Regions from separate parts of the Homo sapiens genome. Here region 2 is linked to region 1. Evidence: promoter capture Hi-C in 16 types of primary human blood cells and fetal thymus (Javierre and others, 2016). All regions are on one chromosome and are shown on one strand. Each heading gives the region's core, a stretch centred on a gene start or on the middle of the fragment in contact. The rest is flanking DNA. Distances are from core to core; before and after follow the strand shown.

Region 1 (5,001 bases), core at 841-3,340:
AACCGTTCGGGTATAATAAATTACTATAAAGTGATTAGCCACCTTTACAGCCACTCTCTAAAACATATGCTATCATAGTTTTCCCCTAAGGCTCAGAGAGGTTAAGTTGCTTGCCCAAAGTCACACAGCAAGGAAGCAGAGCAAATGCCAAGGAACCATTTTTGTGAGAGTTTAGCAGGTACCGGCACTTTGCCAGGTGCTTCCCATATGCATTCCTGCATTTAGCCTGTATAGAAACCCCAAAAGCTGTTCTCATGCCCATCTGAAAGATAGAGAAAATGAGGCTCACAGAAGAGAAACATCAGCCTAAGTTTTGAGAAAGTTCTCAAAGAAGGATTCAGAGCCAGGCGGGGGGTCTGACAACATCCTGTCTGGCTAGGGAGGGGGCGGACCCGGGAGAGGGTGTGGCCGGGTGGGCCCCTTCACACCTGGCCCCCACAGCAAGGTGTTGGTTGCACCTTTCCCATATCCAGCTCCGACCCATTTGGCTGAGAAACAGGCTGCAGGGGATTGGGAAGGTGTCTGCTTTGCCCATCTGCTTAGCTGATGAAGAAAGTTTCTGCCAAACGTTTCCAGAGAGCCAGGCCCTGGAACTTGAGCTAGAAGTTAGAAGACTCGGGGCCTCAGTGTCCACAGCTTTGGGAATGAGAACAGCAAGCCCAGATTCACAAAAGCTGCCAGAGAGAGCAACGGTGGGGGCGCCTGGAGGGGCACGTACCAGTGTGGGTCCGGACATGGCCTTGTAGCAGCCAGGGCCTAGAGAAGGCCTTCCCGCAGGTTCCGCAGACGCAGGGCAGCGTGTGGCTTCGGATGTGCATCTTGAGGGCACCCAGGCTGAGGTATTCCTTGTTGCAGTATTTGCAGTTGAAGGCCTTTCGAGCCTGGAGATCCTTGGCCTCAGAGAGCTGGGCCAGCTGCTTGGGCACTTGGCCCAAGCCTGGGAAGGCAGCATAGGCCTCGGCCTCCAAGGAAGAGACTGAAGTAGAGGAGAAGGACGAAGGAGCCGGTGAGGGTGGGCTGGGGGGCTGGGAGCCTTTCCCACTGTCCTCATCTGACAGGGAGGTCAGCTCTGCCACCCTGGGACTCTCCTGGAGCCGAAGGGAGGCCCAGGCAATTGGCTGGGCTTGGGGCGCCAGGACAGAGTCCCAGATGAGCATTGGCAGCGAGGCGGTGGGGTTGAGGATCTCCGGAGGTGGGATGGCTGCCAGCAGGTGGGCCTGGTCGTAGGGCTGCTGGAAGGTAAACTCTGAGGGAGAAAAAGCAGAGTCAGGCGTTAATTAAATCATTCACTCAATCAACAAACATGAGCCCACCGCTGGCCAGGGGCTGGGTGGGGCCGATTCTCAATACATAATTAGATCAAAAAAATTATCCACAGGACAGACCAGGTTCCTGCCCTCCTCGCCCAGGTCACCCAATCTGAGTCTCTCACACGTAGGACCCCCAGTTGAAGGAGGTCATTTCCTGATCTCCCTCTCCTAAGTCCCCAGTCTCCAGCCTGAGGCCAGAACCCCATCATCCCAGCCCCGGAGCCACCACCCTGCCCCAATCCCCCTCCTCACACACATCTCGTCTCCCCACCCCTCCCCTCAACCCTCTGGACTCCGGACTCTCCCCAGCAGCGTCCAGAGGGCCCTCCTGACACAGGCCTCCTCTCCTTCCCCTCTTGCGGAGCTCCTCCGCCTCTCGCCGGCTACAAAGGCCCCCCAAGCTGAAGACCCCTGCCCTCTACACGGCACTCCCCCAACCACCCAGACAGATCCCCGGAACTGGGGACCCACTTGCCCGGTCTCCCGAGCCCGCAATGGTCCACAAAACATCCTGTGACTCGATCCTGGCTCAGGCAGGCCGCCTCCCTCAGGTGCCCCCCACGCAGCCTTCGCCTGTCTCCCCCAAACCTCCTGGAGCCCAGAACCCCTCCAACGCACCTGGATTAGAGTCCTGCAGCTCGCTGTAGTTAGGCTTCCGATTGGGGTCGGAGGGCTTCCTGACGAGGAAAGAGCGCGGCATAGTGGTCGAGGCACTGGGGTCGCCGATTCGCGCAGCAGTAGCGCAGAAGAACCACTCGCTAGGCCGTGCCGCGGCGCAATGAATGCAGCAGCGCCGCCAACTCCCTTAAGTACTCCGGGGGGGTGGTGGGGGGTGGGAGGGGCGGGGCCTTATCTGCCACGCCCCTTTGTCACCTCCGCGCCAATCGGAGGCTCGTCTCCGCCGAAGGCCACTCCCCGAGCAGGTGCGCCGGCTGCTGGCCGGGCTCGCGCCGCGTGGCGGTGAGAGCCCGGGCGGGGACTCCTCCGAGGCGGGGTTCGCTGGCGCAGCGCGGGTCGTCCCCGGTGCTGGGGCTGTCCGGGGCGGGACGTCGAGCGAAGCGAGGCCTCTGCGAGGTGGGACCCCGGCAGGACGCCGCGCGCCCACCGGCTCAGCGCCCGGTGGTCTGAGCGCTTCTGACGCCCCCTGGCGCTGCGCGCCGGCCGGGACACCTGACCTTCCGACGCCCGCCCCCGCCTCGGGCTTGGGAGGGGGCGGAAATTTCCTCCGCCCGGCTGGCGCCTGGAGAGCGTGGCATTGACGAGGGAAACGCACATCACTGGGGAGGAAGCGAGGAAAGGGACACCGCACGTGGCTCTCGGCGGCTTGAAATGCCACGGCCTTTTTGCAAAGCAGCCTGGCCCAGCTAGCCAAGAGCACCCGTTCCTTCCCTTATCCAGTGTTTACGGAGCGCCCAGCACGTGTGGGGCACTGTACCTGGGGCCAGGGCACAGCCCCGGACAGAACACTCAGAGCCTCTCCCGAAGGGTAGCTTCTGGTCCAGTGAGGGAGACAGACGAAGTAAACAGATAATTACAATGCAAAGGGAAGTGTGCTTTGGTGGGGGAGAGACGGGACGCGGCGACCGTTAAGAGGCGGGTCACCTGACAGGGGGTCGGGGTGACTTCCCAGAGGAAGTGAAGAATTATCAAGGGAAAAGGCCCGAGGGAAGAAGTGGCAACTGCTTCAGAGTAACTCCTAGAGAGCAGCTTCCAGGGATGGGGTGGGATGGGCATGCCCGGAGGGGTCAGATGTGCTGGGCCCCAGGGCCTCGTAGGAGTTTGGACTTTGCCTCAAGGGCACTGGGGAGCCACCGAAGGATTTTCAGCTGAGGAGGGACCTGGTTAGAGTTTCGTTGAAAAAGATCCCTGTAGGCTGGCGGGAGAAAGAAGGCATGGGCCGGGCGTGTCTCCTCACCCCGTGAAGATCCTCGATCCTGTGTCTAAAGGCTGTAACACGGCTCCATAGGGGCCCTGACTGAATGCATGTGGGGTGGGCCCAAGTGAGGGGCAGCTGCACCCCCACCCCAGCTTCCCTGGGAGGCGTACCAGGCCCGGGGGTGGCTCTGAAATAAACCTCACAGGTCTCACCGTTCTTGTTTCCACCTGTGAAGGAAGACTATAAAAACCTATAAGCACCCCACACCACCACCACCACCAACCTGAAGGGCAGAACTACTGTCTGTTTAGTCACTTGGTGCCGGGTGTGACAGCCGTGAACAAAATCGTCCTCCCCTGGTTCTAGCTGGAGAGCGGGCAGTAGGGTGGGGGACAGAGGCAGTAAGCAGTCATTAAGCGGAATACTCCCCGTCCCGTGTCAATTTAGCTCCAATCAGGATCCTTTGCTTGAAGCCAAAGTGAGGCCAGATCACCCCCTCCTCTGCTCAAACCCTCCCATGCGCCTGTCTCAGAGTAAAAGCCAAAGTCCTCTCCTCAGCCAACTCGGCCCCGCTGCTCTGACCCCAGCTGACATTGGCTTGAGCCTCTCTCCCTCCCCCATGCACAAGGATCCCACCCCCAGCCTTCCTTCTGTTCCTCCAACATCCCAGACCTTTCCCACCTTGGCACCTGCTGCTCTTCCTCCTCTCCCCTACGTCTCTTGCTCCTAGATCTTCACGCTGGCTTCCTTTCATTCTTTGTTTCAGCAGCAACTTCACTAACTGCTCAGCCTCGTTTAGTGAAGAGAGAAATGGCAAATTCAAGCCACAGTGAGCTGCCATTTCACGCCCATCAGAAGGACAACAAGGAAAAATTTGGTCACTATCAAGAGTTGATGAGGAGGTGAGAGCTGGCGAGAGGGTCGGTGGGCATAGTCACTTTGGAAAAGTTTGGCATCAGCTAGCAACAGGTGACTCCTCTCCCTGTCTGTCCTCAAGCCAACTGCATCCCAGGGGCTGCAGCTGACAAGTCTGTCCTCAAACCAACTGCATCCCAGGGGTTCTCAGCTCTGGCAGCACATTAGATCCCCACAGGGAAGGATTAAAACACCTAAGCCTCGGCCCACCCCACCCCCACCCACATCTTGATTTAATTAGTCTGGGTGGGGCCTCTGGCATCAGCATTTTAAAAAACTCCCCTGGGGATTATAATGAGCAACCAAGCAAAGTAAAGAACTGTTGTCCAGCCCAAACCCCGAAAAAACAAAAAAGGATATTCATTGTACCCTCGTTCCTAATAGCAAAAAAAGCAAAAACTAAAACAAAACTGGATACAACACAAATGTTTATAAACAGTAGACTGGATTAATGAACCCTGGTGCAATCCTGTAATAGAATACTATACAGCAATAAAAATGAACTACAACTCCATGCAGCAACAGGGATGAATCTCAAAAACACAATGTCGAGCAGAGGTCACAAACAAATGCATAGTTATTTGGATTTATACGAGGTTCTGAAGCAGGCAAATGAAACCCTATATTATTTAGGGATGTATGTGGGGGTTGTAGAATTAGAAAGAAAAGCAAGGAAGTGGTTTTTTGTTTTGTTTTTGAGACGGGGTCTTGCTCTGTCACCCAGGCTGGAGTGCAGTGGCACAATCACGGCTCACTGCCGCCTGGAACTCCTGAGCTCAGCCTGCCAAAGTGCTGGGATTACAGGGGTGAGCCACTATGCCGGCTGCAAGGAGATGTTTGATACAAAATTCTGAAGAGTGGCTGGTGAGGAGGGGAGGCAAGAACAGGCTGCACATGAAG
Region 2 (5,001 bases), core at 1,566-4,065, 200 kb before region 1:
TCAGCTCACTGCAAATTCCACTTCCCAGGTTCAAGCAGCTCTCATGCCTTAGCCTCCCAAATAGCTGGATTACAGGTGTGTGCCACCACGCCCTAAAAATACAAAATAAAAAATTTTTGTATTTTTAGTAGAGACAGGGTTTTGCCATGTAGGCCAGGCTAGTCTTGAACTCCTGACCTCAAGTGATCCACCCACCTCGGCCGCCCAAAGTGTTGGGATTACAGGTGTGAGCTACCACGCCCGGCCAGTAATTCTGTTTTTTAAGGGCTTAAAATAACCACCAGTATATTTGCTCACGATCCTGTAGGTGAGGAATTAGGACAGAGCATGAGGGGACGGCTTATCTCTGCTCCAAGCGTCCACAGTGGCTTCTGTGCTCCACGTGTGGCACCTCACGGCTGGCCCGAGTGGCGGATGGCTGGCTGGACCATGTGTCTGCTGCCTTAGTTCATTCCTCAGTGCTCCCTCTGGCAGTTTCTTTCTCCCCATGTGGCCTCTGCACATGCTGCAAGTTGTCCCTTCAAGTAGCCTCTCCTCCTGGCCTCTCTTGCCCTTTCCATGTGGTCTCCTCAGCACAGTCTTTTTTTTTTTTTTTTTTTTTTTTAAACCTTGCACTTTTTGCAACCAGCACAGACTTCTTACACAGCTGCTGGCCTCCCCCAGAACACAAAAGTGGAAGCTGCTGCTTAAGACTTAAGCCAGCCAGGCGCGGTGGCTCACGCCTGTAATCCCAGCACTTTGGGAGGCCGAGGCGGGTGGATCATTTCAGGTCAGGAGTTCAAGACCGGCCTGGCCAACATGGTGAAACCCTATCTCTACTAAAAATACAAAAATTAGCCAGGCGCAGTGGCACGACCCTGTAATCCCAGCTACTCAGGAGGCTGAGGCAGGAGAATCACTTGAGCCCAGGAAGGGGAGCAGAGGCTGCAGTGAGCCAAGATTGAGCCACTGCACTCCAGCCTGGGCAACAGAACAAGACCCTGTCTCAAAAAAAAAAAAAACTCAATTCACCATGGGGCCTAGCGTGGTGGCTCACGCCTATAATCCCAGCACTTTGAGAGGCCAAAGCAGGAGGATCACTTGAGGCCAGGAGTTCAAGACAAGCCGGTCAACATAGCGAGACCCCCCCGTCTATACAAAAAAATCCAAAATTAGCCAGGTATGGTGGTGCGCATCTGCAGTCCCAGACATTCAGGAGATTGAGGCAGGAGGATCTCTTGGGCCCGAGAGGTCAAGGCTGCAGTGAGCCATGACTGTGTCACTGCACTCCAGCCTGGGTGATGGAGCAAGACCTTGTCTCTAAAAAGAAAAAAAAAAAATGTTTGCCATGGACACGTATGACCTTATGATTGGTTGGGTCCAGAATGTTGCCCGGTCCTGCTTCCACACCTTGGTTGTGCTGTTCCCCTGCCTGTAACAGTCTTCCTTTCCATCCCCAGCTGTCGAAATGCCCAGGGAAACGTTCCCTGAATGCCCAAGTCCGTTACTCTCCCCTCCTCCAGGCTCCAGCTGGACTTCAGGCCTCTGGGCCTCACTCCATCCACCCTACTGGAGTTAGTGTTGTGTAGTCTCCCTCTCCTGGGAACCCCTCTAGGGTCTGCGCAATCTTGGTCATCTCTGTCCACACACACATACAGTGGAATCATGCAGGTGCTGAGTAGGTGCTCAGTGACTTGAGGGCCCAAACCAGGAAAATACACATTTGCCCAACCCACCTTCCCCAACCCACCCCACCCCACCCCCACGCCCCGCCACAGGCATCATGGGTTGCGCTGCCTAGAATGGCCACAAGGTGGCGCGGGAGCCCCGCCTCCGATCTCTGCAACCTCTGAACTGGGAAACAGCTTCAGACTGGGGTTCCTGAGGGCCAGAGACCCCCGGGAGAGGGGGCCTCAAGCCCAGCTTTAAAGAGAAAGCTTACAGGCCAGGCGCGGTGGCTCACGCCTGTAATCCCAGCATTTTGGGAGGCCCAGGCGGGCAGATCACCTGAGGTCAGGAGTTCGAGACCAGCCTGACCAACATGGTGAAACCCCCGTCTCTACTAAAAATACAAAATACAAAAATATTAAAAATACAAAAATTAGCCCGGTGTGGTGGTGCATGCCTATAATCCCAGCTACTTGGGAGGCTGAGGCAGGAGAATCGCTTGAACCCGGGAGGCAGAGGTTGCGGTGAGCCGAGATCGCACCATTGCACTCCAGCCTGGGCAAAAAGAGTGAAACTCGGTCTCAAAAAAAAAAAAAAAAAGAAAGCTTACTGCCTACTCCCCTCCTCAAATTCAAAATTTACTTCCTCTTCAAGTAAATGGACTTTAATTATAGGCGTGCCAGCACTGATAGCTGCAACAATCTCTGAAATCTTGTTTGAGTGAAAGATGCCAGATGCCAAGAACTTCCTGTGTGATCCCATCTGTTTAGAGCTCTAGAACAGGCAGAACTCACCCATGAGGAAAATATCAGCACGGTGGTTGCCAGTTGGGGGAGAGCACAACTGAGGAGGGGACAAGGGTGCTCGCTGGGGTGATGGTGTGTGTTTCGTGTGAGTTTCCTAAGGCCGCCATGATAAGATACCACAAACCCAAAACAACAGAAATTTATTCTCCCCTGAAACCAGGGTCCTGCTCCCTCTGGAGGCTCTGGGGAAGAATCCCTCCTTGCCTCTTCCATGGTGCTTGCCCGCCATCCACCATGTTCCTTGGCTCTAGCTGCCTCACCCCAATCTCTGCCTTAATCTTCCAACGGCCTTCTTCCAGTGCCTTCTTCCCTCTGTGTGTTCACCTCCAAATCTCCCTCTCCTTTCTCTTATATAAACACCAGTCATTGGATTTAGAGCCCCCACAATCCAGAATGATCTCATCTTAAGTTGGGTTCATCTGCAAGCCCCTATTTCCAAATAAGGTCACATTCACAGGTCCCAGGGGTTAGGACTTGAACATATCTTCTTGGGGGACACAATTCAACCCACTGCATGTTTAACATCTTGGAGGGAGTTTGGGCAGTGCAGGTGGATGCATTTGTCAAAAGTAATCAAAAGTGGCTGGGCGCAGTGGCTCACCCCTGTAATCCCAGCACTTTGGGAGGCTGGGGCGGGTGAATCACTTGAGGTCAGGAGCTCAAGACCAGCCTGGCCAACATGGTGAAACCCCATCTCTACTAAAAATACAAAAATTAGCCTGGTGCAGTGGCAGGCGCCTGTAATCCCAACTGCTCAGGAGGCTGAGGCAGAAGAATCACTTGAACCCTGGAGGCAGAGGTTGCAGTGAGCAGAGATCGCAACACTAGACTCAGCCTTGGTGACAGAGCAAAACTCCATCTCAAAAAAATAATAATAATAATCAAAAGTACACCTAAAGGTGCAGTTCACCAAATGTAAGCTTTACAGACAGAGAAACAAATATTTGACTCTAGTTAATGACGTGCACACTGACATCTTGACATGCACACTGACATCTTGAGGGGTATCTGCAGCTTACCCAATTAAATGTTAAAAATAAAACAAGCCAGCCATGGTGACTGCCACCTGTAATCCCAGCACTTTGGGAGGCCAAGGCGGGTGGATCACTTGAGGTCAGGAGTTCAAGACCAGCCTGGCCAACATGGTGAAACTGCGTCTCTACTAAAAATTAGCTGAATGTGGTGGCGCACGCCTGTAATCCCAGTTACTTGTGAGGCTGAGGTAGGAGAATTGCTTGAACCTGGGAGAGGGATGTTGCAGTGAACCGAGATCGTGCCACTGCACTCCAGCCTGGGTGACAGAGTGAAACTCCATCTCAAAAAAATAACTGAAATAAATAAATAAATATAAAAATAAAACAGATTAATGAATAAACAGAGGTAGAGCCCCACCAATGCCACTTTTGAGAATCTATCCTGAGGAGCTCATCATGAAAATAACTCAAGCCTGCTCCTCACCACACATTCATTTAGGCTTTTCTTTAGATAAGATCTCTGTAGCCCAGGCTCAAGTACGTCGGCACCATCACAGCTCACTGCAGCCTCAACACCCCCAGACTCAGGTGCCCTTCCCTCCTCTGCCTCCCAAGTAGCTGGGACCACAGGCACGCACCACCATGCCAGGCTAATTTTTTTTTTTTTTTTTTTGGAGACAGGGTCTGCCACTCTGTCACCCAGGCTAGAGTGCAGTGGCACAATCACGGCTCACTGCAATCTCAGCCTCCCCAGGCTCAAGCAATCCTCACATTTCAGCCTCCCAAGTAGCTGGGACTACAGGCACACACCACCACACCTGGCTAATTTTTTTGCATTTTGTAGAGACAGGATTTTGCCATGTTTCCCAGGCTGGTCTCAAACTCATGGGCTCAAGCGATCTGCCTACCTCGGCTTCCCAAAATGCTGAGAAGCCACTGTGCTCGGCCTAGTCATTTAAACATTTTAATGATGAAAACTATGGAAACCAACTCAGTGCTCAGCTTTGCCACCCCCACTGGAGCACCTGGGGACTCAGCCTGAGGCTGTGGGAGGCATCAGGTGCGGGAAGCCTCTGAAATGAAGGGAAAGGTTGAACGTGGTTGCGTTTGCTTTATTACAGAAAGAATTATTCCAGCTTTCATCCAGTTCTCAGGGCCAGGCCGGTAACCCCCACAGAGGTGAAGGCCCCTGGTCAGCTGGGTGCTGGGTGCCCACCGGGTGCTGACATGCATACTCAGACCCCTCAAGAGGAAAGGGTGGCCTCCTTCACCAGGAAGCCGGCGCTGGTCCCGGCCCTGTCGCCGGGAACGTAAGCAACTGGGCCTCTTTTTCCTGGGCATTTATGCTGTGCCAGGCACTGCCCGAGGGGGTTGTATTTCTTCATATATTTATTCCCTTCTCTTCTGGTACCTGCCATCCACCTCTTCTCACCCCCACTCAAAGGCAGCCATTCTGTCACTTTGTGTCTTTTTGCTGGAATGTGTCCCTGCAAAACACATGTGGCTACTTTGTGGCATGAACACTTGTGTGAAGGGTTTTGTAGCTGTGGCTCATCCACGGTCCTTTCTATGAG

What was found. Contacts are between HindIII fragments. The CHiCAGO score rates a contact against its expected background, and 5 or more counts as called.
Region 2: a contact is called between a fragment that was not itself captured here and the fragment with the promoter of SNAI1 in region 1, in 17 of 17 cell types (endothelial precursors, naive B cells, activated CD4 T cells and 14 more). The highest score is 21.4, in endothelial precursors.

Annotation. Positions count from the first base shown.
Region 1 is chr20:49,980,069-49,985,069 of GRCh38, reverse strand. SNAI1 (snail family transcriptional repressor 1) reads right to left here and starts at 2,090. Exons shown (of 3, transcript NM_005985.4): 1 at 1,929-2,090; 2 at 719-1,246. The coding sequence starts at 2,010. RefSeq lists a silencer at 2,076-2,595 and an enhancer at 2,748-3,685. The HindIII fragment of the contact is 8,892 bases long and covers 1-5,001 here.
Region 2 is chr20:50,176,194-50,181,194 of GRCh38, reverse strand. It overlaps LINC01273 (long intergenic non-protein coding RNA 1273), which reads right to left. Exons shown (of 3, transcript NR_109943.1): 3 at 4,524-4,914. Among named protein-coding and RNA genes, the nearest start is that of LINC01273, 6.1 kb to the right of the region's middle. RefSeq lists an enhancer at 1,526-2,025. The HindIII fragment of the contact is 1,121 bases long and covers 2,255-3,375 here.